Regions from separate parts of the Homo sapiens genome. Here region 1 is linked to region 2. The links are contacts of gene promoters, found by promoter capture Hi-C in blood cells and fetal thymus (Javierre and others, 2016). All regions are on one chromosome and are shown on one strand. Each heading gives the region's core, a stretch centred on a gene start or on the middle of the fragment in contact. The rest is flanking DNA. Distances are from core to core; before and after follow the strand shown.

What was found. Contacts are between HindIII fragments. The CHiCAGO score rates a contact against its expected background, and 5 or more counts as called.
Region 1: the fragment with the promoter of GPR50 here is called in contact with the fragment with the promoter of GABRQ in region 2 in 2 of 17 cell types (M2 macrophages and non-activated CD4 T cells); the score reaches 7.1 in M2 macrophages.

Annotation. Positions count from the first base shown.
Region 1 is chrX:151,175,185-151,180,901 of GRCh38, reverse strand. GPR50 (G protein-coupled receptor 50) reads right to left here and starts at 4,318. Exons shown (of 2, transcript NM_004224.3): 1 at 3,994-4,318; 2 at 1-1,131. The coding sequence starts at 4,180. GPR50-AS1 (GPR50 antisense RNA 1) reads left to right here and starts at 3,066. Exons shown (of 3, transcript NR_135300.1): 1 at 3,066-3,525; 2 at 4,027-4,107; 3 at 4,632-5,704. RefSeq lists enhancers at 4,685-5,653, 5,654-5,717. The HindIII fragment of the contact is 16,411 bases long and covers 1-5,717 here.
Region 2 is chrX:152,635,177-152,640,609 of GRCh38, reverse strand. GABRQ (gamma-aminobutyric acid type A receptor subunit theta) reads right to left here and starts at 2,715. Exons shown (of 9, transcript NM_018558.4): 1 at 2,259-2,715; 2 at 144-232. The coding sequence starts at 2,407. MAGEA3-DT (MAGEA3 divergent transcript) reads left to right here. Exons shown (of 5, transcript XR_938525.3): 3 at 816-1,006; 4 at 4,623-4,728. The HindIII fragment of the contact is 4,664 bases long and covers 1-3,726 here.

The DNA.
Region 1 (5,717 bases), core at 3,069-5,568, 1.5 Mb after region 2:
TAGGGTAGACAGTGGCAGACTTGGGGTGACCAGAGGCAGGCTTGGAGTGGCCAGAGACAGGCTTGAGGTGACCAGAGGCAGCCTTGGAGTGGCTAAAGACAGACTTGTGGTGGGTAGAGGCAGATTTGCGATAGGCAGAGGAGGATCTGGAATGGGGCTTAGGGTGGCCAGAGGCACGGTCGGGGTGGCCAGCTGCAGCATCACCAGGTAATGGAACATTCCGGACATTCATCGGGGTTTCCTCCACAGCAGGACAGGCATGGGCACGGTCTTGTTCACGAGCTTGGTCGCGAGCATGGGCACGGGCGCGGGCCAGGGTACGGGCCTCCTGCATCTCACGAATATCACTGATGAGGCCAGAGAAGAATATGATAGGGTGCCGCATAGCATGGAAGATGGTCCAGTATTCTCTTCGGAAATTCTCATTGAGGAGCCCGTAGATCACAGCGTTGAGGCAGCTGTTGAAGTAGGCTATGAAGTAGGCTGCAAGATAAAGCCAGTTGGGGATCTTGCCTGCCATCTCCTTCGGACTGACAGCCACCAAGACAGTGAGCACGTTGATAGGGCACCAGCACACTGCAAAGAGGAGGAAGATCACAAACATGGTTAGAAAATTGCGAACCTCAGCAAGTTGGTTGTCAGGATTCTGCCCTGCAGGGTCACGGGCCGCCAGCACTTTGGTCCAGATCCTCACGTAGCAGAAACCCACGATGAGGAGAGGGAGGACGAAGTGGATGCAGACGATGGTAACAGTGAAGACAGGGTTGTTCAGATAGTTGAAGATGCAGGTGTAGGTGCGAGGATCGTACTCGATGGTGCCAATGTACATGTTGGGCAGGACAGCCAGGACGGTCATGATCCAGGTGATGACCAGGTAGATGCAGGTATTGCGCACACTGAAGATCCGTTCGTACTGGAGGCTGTGGCAGATGTAGCAGTAACGGTTGATAGCGATTGCCACGATGTTGAAGATGGAGCCGACCACACTCAGCCCTGTGATGAACCCGACCATCTGGCACTGTAACTGGCTCAGATCCCAGCCCCCAATGGACATGGCATGCAGCATCAAAGGGTATGGGTAGATGGCCACCAGCATATCGGCCACAGAGAGACTGACCACGAAGATGTTGCCTGAAAAACATATCGAGGGAGGGAGAAAGGGGAAAGACAGAGAAGAATAAGTGGTTTAAGTACAGAAATCTACACATTTAAGGTGCAGGGGAAGGCCAGCTGGATTATGACCTTTTATAATTCCAGAATTCTTTTAAAGAAATGCTCTGAGAAAGAAGCGAACATAAGACAGACAGCAGTGAGCACAAAATCCCTGCCAGGAGCCTTCACAATGAGACAGGGTCATGCTGCCACCATCTTAGAGAAAAACAAAATGCAAACGTTTCCTTCACTGGAGGTGAGGGGGAGGGAGAAGGAGGAGGGGAGTAGAGGTGAGCTAGAGGGACTTGTTTTTAGGAAGGAGGCTGGAGAGTGGGGGGCAAGGAGAGACACTGGAGGGATGTCAGGAAGCCTCAAACTAAAAAAATTAAAAATAATTAAATAATTAGAAAAAGATAAATTAGCCATCTCCCTCCTATAGCCTAGCATTGCATTTATAATAAACACATTACTAGAGAGAAGATTCTGAGAAAAGGCATTAGAGGCCATCTTCTTAAACAGTCTTTTCCGATGGGATCAAGCAGTAACCTAAAACCTTGCCAAGTCAAATACTTACCGTTCCGAGGTAACCTAAGAGTGAAAACTGAGGGGAAGCAGGGAAGCCCTGTAAAATTTAGTCTGAGACCAAAGAAGTAGTGAGAGGGCGGGCGGGAAGGGTGGCGCGAGGTGGGCGGGGGTGGGGGGGAGGAGAAAAAATCCTGCAAGGATTAGCAGAAGTGCCTGTTTCAGTTACATGCCGCGTCCACGTCCACGCGCAGAGCCGCGCACTGGCACATTCAGCGCCCTGCACAGAGCTCCCAGCGCCGGGCACTGAACTTTACTGGAGCCTTCAGGTTAAACAGGATAGAGAAGAAGGGTCACCCCCACTCCGGTCTTGTAGGGCTGAGGTGGGAACTTTTTTGTAAAACCTTTCACAAAAAAGAGAAGGAAGAGGCCAGGTGCAGGCGCAGAGCCCTCTTTCTTTGGAGACACCTCGTTGCTAATTAGCATTGGTTTGGCAAAATATTGCACTTCATCTTGGACTAGGAGAAAATGAGCGCTTTTGAAAAGGGCAAAGGTATGGCTCCTTCTTCCTCCTTCCTCCAGCGCTGTCAGCACTCGGCCTCAGCACTTTCTACCGAAGAGGTTCTTTCTATGGTTTTCCGGCAGAGTAATGAATTCAGGGAAATACAGCCGAAAAGAGAAGGGGCAAAGCCTTAAAAACAAAACCACAACAACCATAAAAGCCTTTATTTGAATTATAGAAGGAAGGAAGGAGAAGGAGAAAAAGAAAGAAAAGAAATCTAAAGGGAATAAAATGGGCTTCGCAGGTCGCCCCCAGGATTCCGTGGGTTTGCACCTCGGGACCGCACCGCGGGGGTGAAGGTGAAGACCTAGTGTATGGCCCCACGATTCCAGGAGACGAAGGAGAAATCGGAGACACCCACCAGACTTTGTAAGAAAACTTTTAATGACTGTGTGCCAGTCAGTGCGTTTTTAAACTTGTTCAGTGTTCGTGACTCCTTGCCCAAGCAAAGTAATCCCCCAGACCCCGGCCGCCACCTCTCCCCCACGCCCTGCCCGGGAGAATCCAGCTGGTCTCCCCACCCTCTCAGACCCCCTTCGGTCCCCACTCCTAGCCCCAGCCGATCGAGAATCTGGCGGTGGAAATTCCAGGCGCCGCCCCTCCCTCCCCCGGCCTGAACTCGGAGTTTGGGCGCCTTTGCCCCTTCCCCTCCCTTCCAGAGCCCTCTCCCGCCCAACCTGTAAGCCGGACTAGCTGCTCTGCAGTGTCTGCCGCCCCCACCCCCAGCACAGGTCGCAGCGCCCGGCATCCTCCCACGCTTCCCTCCTGCCCTGCTCGCCGCCGGCCCCCGGCCCCCGGCCTCCTCCCGCTCGGCAGTGGCTAGCAGCGGGGGAAGTCCCGCCTGCGGCTCCCAGACCCCAGCCCTTTGCAGCCTCTCTGAGTCCCCCATCGCCGCCTCTGAGCTCTCCCGTCGCCCTCCCGCCAATCCCTACTCGGTTTTGCTGCCTTCTATCCCTCCACCCCCAGCAACGCCCAGCTCCCAAGCCTCTTGGCCGGCCCGCCCTGCGACCCCCCAGTTCCCCGCTTACGGACCTTGGGATCTCCGCTGCCGCCGCCGTCGCTGCCACCGCCTGCTGTGCCCGACCCGCCGCTTGCCTCTCTCTGCCGTTCGCCCTGGGACGGGCGGACGGAGCTCGGCTCCGGCGGGCTCAGACCTCCCTGCTCGATTCTCGGGCGCGGGGGTCTGTGCTCCGCCGCCCGGGATCTGCCCGGGAGCCGTCCTGGAGCCCCAGGGCCGCGGCGAGCGGGCTCTTGGCCCGGCTAGGGAGAGGCCACTGCGTTGCGCTCTGGTAAGGGCCGCCGCGGCCGCCGCGAACTTAACTTTCACAGAGCAGGTCGCAGCCCCGCTGCTCCCTCCGCGTCAGTTCGGTCCGCGCTGCCTCAGCGCGGCCGCCCTTGCGGCGTCCGGCTCGGCTTGCTGTCCCCGGGCGAATCGCCTGACTCTCCCGCTCGGGTGCCGGCTCCCTCCGCATCAGGCCCCGACGGGACAGGGATCCTCGGGCTGCCGCGCACCACGGGAACGCTTTGTACTTGGATGCCCAAAGCTAATTCTCTGTGCTCTCTCGGCCTTGAGAACCTCCACGTTTAGAGGGCCGGGACAGAATACTACCACCCCCAGGCTTGCGGGGAATTTGGGAGCAGGGATGTTCAATATGAGGGCACTGTCCATAGATTCTCTATTCGGGGAGCTCAAAAACTAACGCCCTAGGGGTTGCAAGTCTCTGCACACTGGGTAGGGAGAAGAAGGGGTGGCTTACCAGAATTCCGGAGCTTCTTGTTCTTCGTCACAGCCAAAATGACCATGGAGTTGCCGATTAGGTCTACAACGATGGTGATAACCATCGCGCAGAACATAAAGATGATTAGAGCCGGTGGGTATTCTGGCTGGGGTAGCTTACAGCCAATACAGCCATAGGGGGTGGGAACCGCTAGGGTGGGCCCCATGTTGCTCCTGGGGATCGTTAAGATCTCCCAGCAGGCTCAGGATCAGCAGCCAGGTCCAGACAGCAAACACCTGTTCTGTCACCAGGAGCTCCAGGAAAGCGTGCCTCCCTCTCTGAGAGTCAGAGAGCAAATGACAGCATCCCGCCCCTCTCCGATGAGCTTTTAAAGCCTCAAGAGGCGGCTAGCCCCACCCCAAATCCCTCCCCCCGACCAATCAGACCTCCCTGAATACCCCCCCCTTGGCTACCCCCTCTTATTGGACAAATCCACATTGAGGTGTCATCTTGCTTCCGACTGCCTTGTATGTACTTCCTCTCTAGCCAGCCTGCCCTGCCTCTCAATCTCCCAGGTACCTTGCAAGCATCATGACTAGCTCGGAGTCCACCCCACACCCCCTCCACCAGCCCCTGTGCATTCGTTTCTAGCAAGTTCTTCTCCCTCTCTCCTCCAGTGCAAACACCTGGCAAAGAGATGTAGATTGCAGAGCCGGAGCACAGAGTCTTTCATAGGATCCAGTGCTAGACCAAGCCAGTCCACAGCCCCCAGCAGGGTATAGGGGATAGCCGGTGGCCCCTTGAACGCTAGATGCTTGCCTCTGCAAGTATCCTTGTGAGGTCCATCCCACGCCCCATGCCCTTGCCTGTCTAGAGCCTTCTGTGTCCCGCGGGGAACAGGGGACTACTGCTGGGAGCTCCCACCCCCAATCTGGGTCCCTAATCCCTAGGGAACTTAACCCCGCTCCCTTTCTCGCCAGGAGCCTCTTGGCTCCCTTAGCGGCAGCTGCGAGTAGCCGCTCAGTCCGGTCCAGGTCTTGCACTCTCCATAAAGAGATGTACCCTGCGCCCGACTCTGGAAGTGGGGAGCGGGTCTGCACCCTGGGACCTAGGGAAGGCATTGGTGGCCACTCGGTCCTCAGTTTGGGGGCGAACGGGAGCGGGAGCTCGTCTCCTTTCCAGCTGCCGGCAGCCAGGCGGCGGAAGCCAAGGGACGCTTTGGGAAAAAGTAAAACAGGCAATAAAGCTCTTCTCTTGGGTCCCCGCTTCTCAAGGAAACTCAGGACGAGAGGCTCTGACGCCTCTCCCTCTCGGGATGCTCGGCATTCTCTACTGAGCGGCACGGGGCAGTCAGGAAGGCTGAAGGAGCTGCGCCGCAGCCGCGGGAAAGGTGCGGAGGTGTCACGCGGCTAAACCAAGAAGCCTCTGGCTGACCGGCGATCCCTGCCTCAGTCAGGATTCCTCTCGGTCTTTCTCCTTTCCCATGCCCTTCTGGGGTTCTCGTTTCGACCCCATCCCTCTCAGGCCTCCCCCCTCGCCCTCCACACCGCGGATCTCTGTCCCCGTGCGTCACAGTTCCCCTGCGGTGCGCCCAGGATCTCGCTCCGCGGGGACCACGGAAAATTCGAATATTCGGGCAAAACTAAAGGGGCGTGATTCGGACACTCGTTCCCTCAATAACCTTGGTCACGGGAATGGATTTCTGCCGGCTACTAAAAGTTACGGCTCCTGTCGAGAAGCCTTTCAAAATCTCAGTAAACACC
Region 2 (5,433 bases), core at 1,466-3,965:
AGAGTCAGGAAGGTGGGATCTGGAGAGGCACAGGTGTAGAGCCCGCAGGATACCACTGGTCAGCTTACAGGGCAGGGCTGGCTTGCTGTGTCTCAGCTCTAGGACACCTAACCCAAGTTCTCTAGTGTCTGGATATGCCTTACCTCCAAAATTCGGTCTCAGGCGGACATCGTATCTTGACAGCACCCTGTCCAAAATCTTTTGAACCACAGCTTCATTTGCACAATTTTTGCTGAAACAGAGAAGTCATAAGTAAATGCCGGTTGACTTGGGGCCCGCTTGCCAGTGGTTGCCTTGCTAGGGCCTTCTCTTCTCCAGCACATACGCAGACATGTCCAGTCATACGTGTACACACTCTCTCTCCCTGCTCCCCTCCCTCCCCATGGTGAGTCAGCCAGAAGCGCAGCGGTGACGCAGACTCCTCTTTCCTCCCCCCCCCACCTTCCCAGCTTTAATCCAGAGGGTGGGGCTCAGAGACTGGATCCCTGTTACCAGGCAGGACTTGTAGGGGTTGACGAGAGGAGGCGGTAGGAGAAGGGGAGACGAAGAAGAGTGGGCAGATGAAAGCCCTCAGAAAAATGCATTACTTCAGCCCCTTCAAGAGCCCCATCTTGCAATCAGCCTCGACGCTGTTTTCTAGGTTGGTGGGGGTCCTCCTGCCAGGGGCACCTGATTGCCCCAGGAAAAGTCATCTTTTGCTCTCAGTGCCCTAGTAAGATGAGCTCAAAGTTTCATTTCCCCTTACCTGGGCTAGGGCTGGGCATTTTTTAGTCACTTTTATGTCAACCTTGTTTCTGCACAACTCTGTTTTCCAGACTTGGCATATGGCATAAGACACACAGAGAGAGCCTTGCTGGTGTAGCTGAGATTTACGACCCTCATCCAACCAAACCATTTCAGATTCTTGGGGCTCAGAGCTCTCATCGGAAAGACATCTATTCTGGGAGCAGGTATATCTCTTGCTGAGCATGTGCTTCCACCCTGGAGGTGTCTTGGGTGAGCATAGGTAAGTGGACTCAGCCCAGCTCTGTGGAGAGCTGGCTTTTCCAGAGATCTCTGACACGCTCACCCAATTCACCTAGACCTTCAACAGGGCTCCTTCCCCAACAGGGCTTGCGAATCAGAACAGGCCCCGGCATCACTGTGACTCTTCAAATCTTTGACGCATTGCCCAGGGAACGTCAGCCCCTGCAAATGTGTGTGTTTGTGTGTGTGTGTGTGTGTGTGTGTGCGCACGCGCATGTGTGCATGTTCAGTGGCGCAGTATGGTATGTTGGGTTAAGGGCACTGCAGGGCTGTCTGCTGGAACCTTGCCAAACACCCCCCCCCCCTTTATGAGTACATGTTAATTTCTGGCTTGCCATTTAAACATTGTTAAAAATTATTCCTAATCATCTTTAATCAAAAATTTCATTTTGCAGCATCCCAAAATGTGCACATGAATTATTCCCAAATTAAAGCAATGCATTCCCACCTGTTTCCAAGCACACATTACCCATGTGCCAACGCTCAGGATCTGTGGCCACCCCAAATACACATTTCTGTGTGATTTACATGTAAAGGCTTCAGATACTCGCACACCCAAACAAACTTAAAATCAAAAAGAGAAAAAAACCGGAGTCTTCAAATATTTTCACACGACTAAGTACAAAAGCACACCCATCCCAGACCACACGGTTCGTGTTTATTCAGACACGATCGCACTGTCTGGGCTCCGATGGGTTTGAGTTAATCATTTCTATCTGCCGCATTGGAAAGAGTCCCTCATCCCCTCAACACATGCATGCACGCGCGCGCGCCTCAGGAAATGGACTAAAATGTAGACTCAAACAGGTGTCTCTCCTGTCTATGTTTTGTGAATTGCCCGTCATCCTGTACCCTCCTCCCCAATCCCACAGGTGCCAAAGCTGGGGAAAGCTGCCGGGAACCTTAAATCCTTGGGGATGGATGGACAGATCCTGGGACGAGGGCGACCCCCGCCCCCACCCCTCGGGCTGCGGTTTAGGCACACGCAGGGCTCAGTCAAGCTCCGCAGTAACAGGTGGGCGGAAGCACAGGGCTCCATTTCAACACCCCACTCCCACCTTACCCCTTCTAGGGGCCAACAGGCAGGGCCCGGGCGCCAGGGCTCAGCGAGCCCGGGTCCGAGTACCCCCCAGCCCGAGTCGCCCCCAGCCCGCTCCGTCCAAGAGGCCAGAGGTCGTCTGCCCGTCTCCATTCCCGTCCCCGCCGTGCCTAGCCTGGCGGTGCCCGCTTACCAGTTGAAGAGGTTCAGGACGACTTCGGGCACAGCAGAGGAGAACTCGAAGTGGAATTTCGGGATGGGACTGGGGTAGTTGCCCTCCGCGAGCCAGGTCCTGATGAGCAGCAGGATCACTGCGGCTCGCAGCATGCCTCGGATGCCCATGGCCGGGGCGTTCTGGGCGCCTGAGGGCGCGGGAGACGGGGCCGCGAAAAGGAACAGAGGTGGGGTGGGAGAGTGGGTGACTACTGGGGCCGGGGAAGGCGGGATTGCTGGCCCTTCCCCAAAGAGTCGCCTCTAAGGAGAGAGCAGCGAGGGCAAGGGAAGTAGGGGGTGCGGGGGTCGGCCCGGATACCGGAGATGAGAGCCCGGGAGGAGCAACCACCCAGCAGCTCTGCTGGACGCAGCTCCCCCCAGGGCCCGCCCGGCAGCTGCGAGGTGCGCTCCGTCTGCGGCCGCTCCTGGCTGCGACTGGGCACAGATCCCAGCTCGCTGCTGGCTCCGCCCACTCCGACGGCATCGCAGGCCCAGCCAATCGGACAGCTGCCAGGAGCCGCACAAAAAGGCGCGCGCTCCTGCCTCCGCCCGTAGCCTGCGCGCCGCCCGGCCCCCGCCCCTTCAGGCTTCTGCAGTCATCCCCCGGCCATCTCCAGACACAGGCAGGGCGGGGCCGGGCTGGGGGAGGGGGAGGAGGGCTGGCTCCTTGGGGGCTGGGCCAGGAATCCGCCTCAAGGGGCACTGGGTCCTGTCTCTTCTCTGCAAAATGCGAAATGTGTGTTTTTCTTGGAAGAAAGGGCCTGTGCCCGAGAGTTGTATTTGATGGTGAAGGGAGTGTGGTAATTTGACCGCCATGGCTGAATCTGCATTCTGAAAGACTTGGACAATTTTGGGCGTCAGGAGGTACCCAACGGCTGGTGACTCCGTACCCTTGAGCCTCCAGTAACCCCGCGTGCCTTGTCTCTGGATAAGGTCAAGGAGGATCCTAATGGGTTTTGTTACAGGGCTCTGGCCACAGCAGGACTGCTCCTCCCTCAGGATGGACATTGGGCTACAGGAGCCCAAGAGTTGCTTAAGACTTAAATTTCCTAGAGTGCTCTTCACCCCAACTTTGGGTACTCAGGAAAAAGACTCAAGGAACTGGAAGGGCTCACCAACTGGGGTCTCTCTGAGATGTGGTTGTGTCTCATCAGCCAGGGGATGCAGAATGAAGGTTCATGGCTGACACCATAGAAGGGGAAAAAAAGGCCAAGGTCAGTGTTTGGGGTGTTCAAGGGAGTTAGGCACTGGAGACCAGGGTATGCCAATGTTCCTGGGTTCTGACCCCATCATATGGAAAAGCCTGACATCTTGACTAGAGGGCTCTTATTCTTTCCACTACCTCAGACTCTGCCCCTATGGGACAGAAAAATCGTGGAGGATAAGAAATGCCTCCACCCAATTTCCTATGTCCTTCCTATCCCATGACAAAGCAAGTTCAGAAAGCTTAGAAAGTGGCCTCACCAGAGCCCATAGGGCAAATGGGTAATCAACAAACAGAGCTGCCATGTTCACCGGCATGCCACCTCCCACATCACACCATTGAGAAGAGTTGAAATCAAAACGGATTTCAGGTTTACTTTTGGTTACCTAGAACATTCACTGAGAAACACAACATCTCCCCCTTTTTTTCCCCTCAGTATTTGATGAAATGAGTTGAGATTGCTGGTGCCCAGCAAAGCATGACTTACCTGGTAGGCCAAGCAGTTTTGCACAGCTGAGGGTTTAACTCTTTTACCACTCCCCCTTTAAAATCATTTTAGAACCATACTTTTATGAAAAATGTCTCTCATAGTTTCCTGCCTTCTTTTAATGAGCAGAACACCCTCACACCTTTCTTTCCCATCTCCCCTCTTTCCCTGGCCATTGCAGTAAGAAAAAAGGATGATGGGACCCATTTGTCAGGATCACATATGAGAGCAGATTAAACCCACCTCTACTGCTACCAGTCCTGTCCCATCACCTCTGGTCACACAGACGTCCTTGTAGAGAAAATCCTTGTTTGCCAAAAATGTTAGAGCCATTCCGGGGCATTTTGTCCAGCCACCTCGGTTGTAATGTAGGGAAACTGAAGCCCAGAGAAGAAAAAGGGATTGGCCCAAGGTCACACAGTAGCAGAGGCCAAAACTAAAAACCACATTTCCAGGTCTGCTTACTTCGAGAAGAGTGCGTTTTCAGTCTAAGTCAGCTTTGACTGGAAGTTCTAGCAACCACCAGCAGGTGGGAGCAGATTTGTTTGAATGTGGGATGTTCCCAGCACTGAGGAATCAAATTCCACAGGCAATTGGTCTGGTCGCTCATTTGTTAGGGGAAACAAGCCTGAAGCCTGAAATTTTGTTCTTAGGTACCCTTGTGACTATGAAGATTGACAAAAAGTTGACGGCAACGATGAATTCTCTTCCAGAACTTACATCCCAGAAGGCCCTCCCCTACTTCGGGTCTCCCTAGAGGTAATGCTTCATTGAAATTTCTGACTCACAAGAAAAGGATAGCCAAAATACAAGAAATACAAAAATGCCATTATAATTTGTACTTATTGAGCGTTTGCCTAGTTAATTTATTATAATATCCATAAAGATCTAGATTGAATAAGCTTAAACCTGAATATGGGATAATGGTGTAGGACAAAGAACACTCATCTGGAAGTTAGCCCATCTGTGTTCTGACCCAGCTCTGCACACGACAGTGAATATTCCAGTTTGGCTAAAGGGTAGAGTAAGTTTGGAGGTAAGACAACAGGTGAGATAGGTAAGAGGTGAGAGATTAGGCAGAACCTGACTTTGTAAGCAACACACACTCAGTGTACAATAAATTCTTGTGTAATGAATGAGGCAAGAGAAAGAATCTGGGTCCTAATTTTCTAAAATAAAAAATTGTATTTTATTTTAGAGTCAACAGTAATCTTCTGAAGGATTTGTGCAAGGGAATGATACAATCAGAGTGGCACCTTCGCACTGAAGGAAAAACTGGGAGGGAGAGGGACTGGGGGCAAGAAGAGCACACATCTCCTTCTGGTAATGGCCAGCTAGGTAACTTGGACTAGCTGTTCCAGTGAGGACAATGAAACAAACTGGCTGAATGTAGAAAGAAATAATTGTCATAAAGAACTGAGAGATACTGAGGCTAAAATCCGGAAGAAGACAAGAACCCAGGGG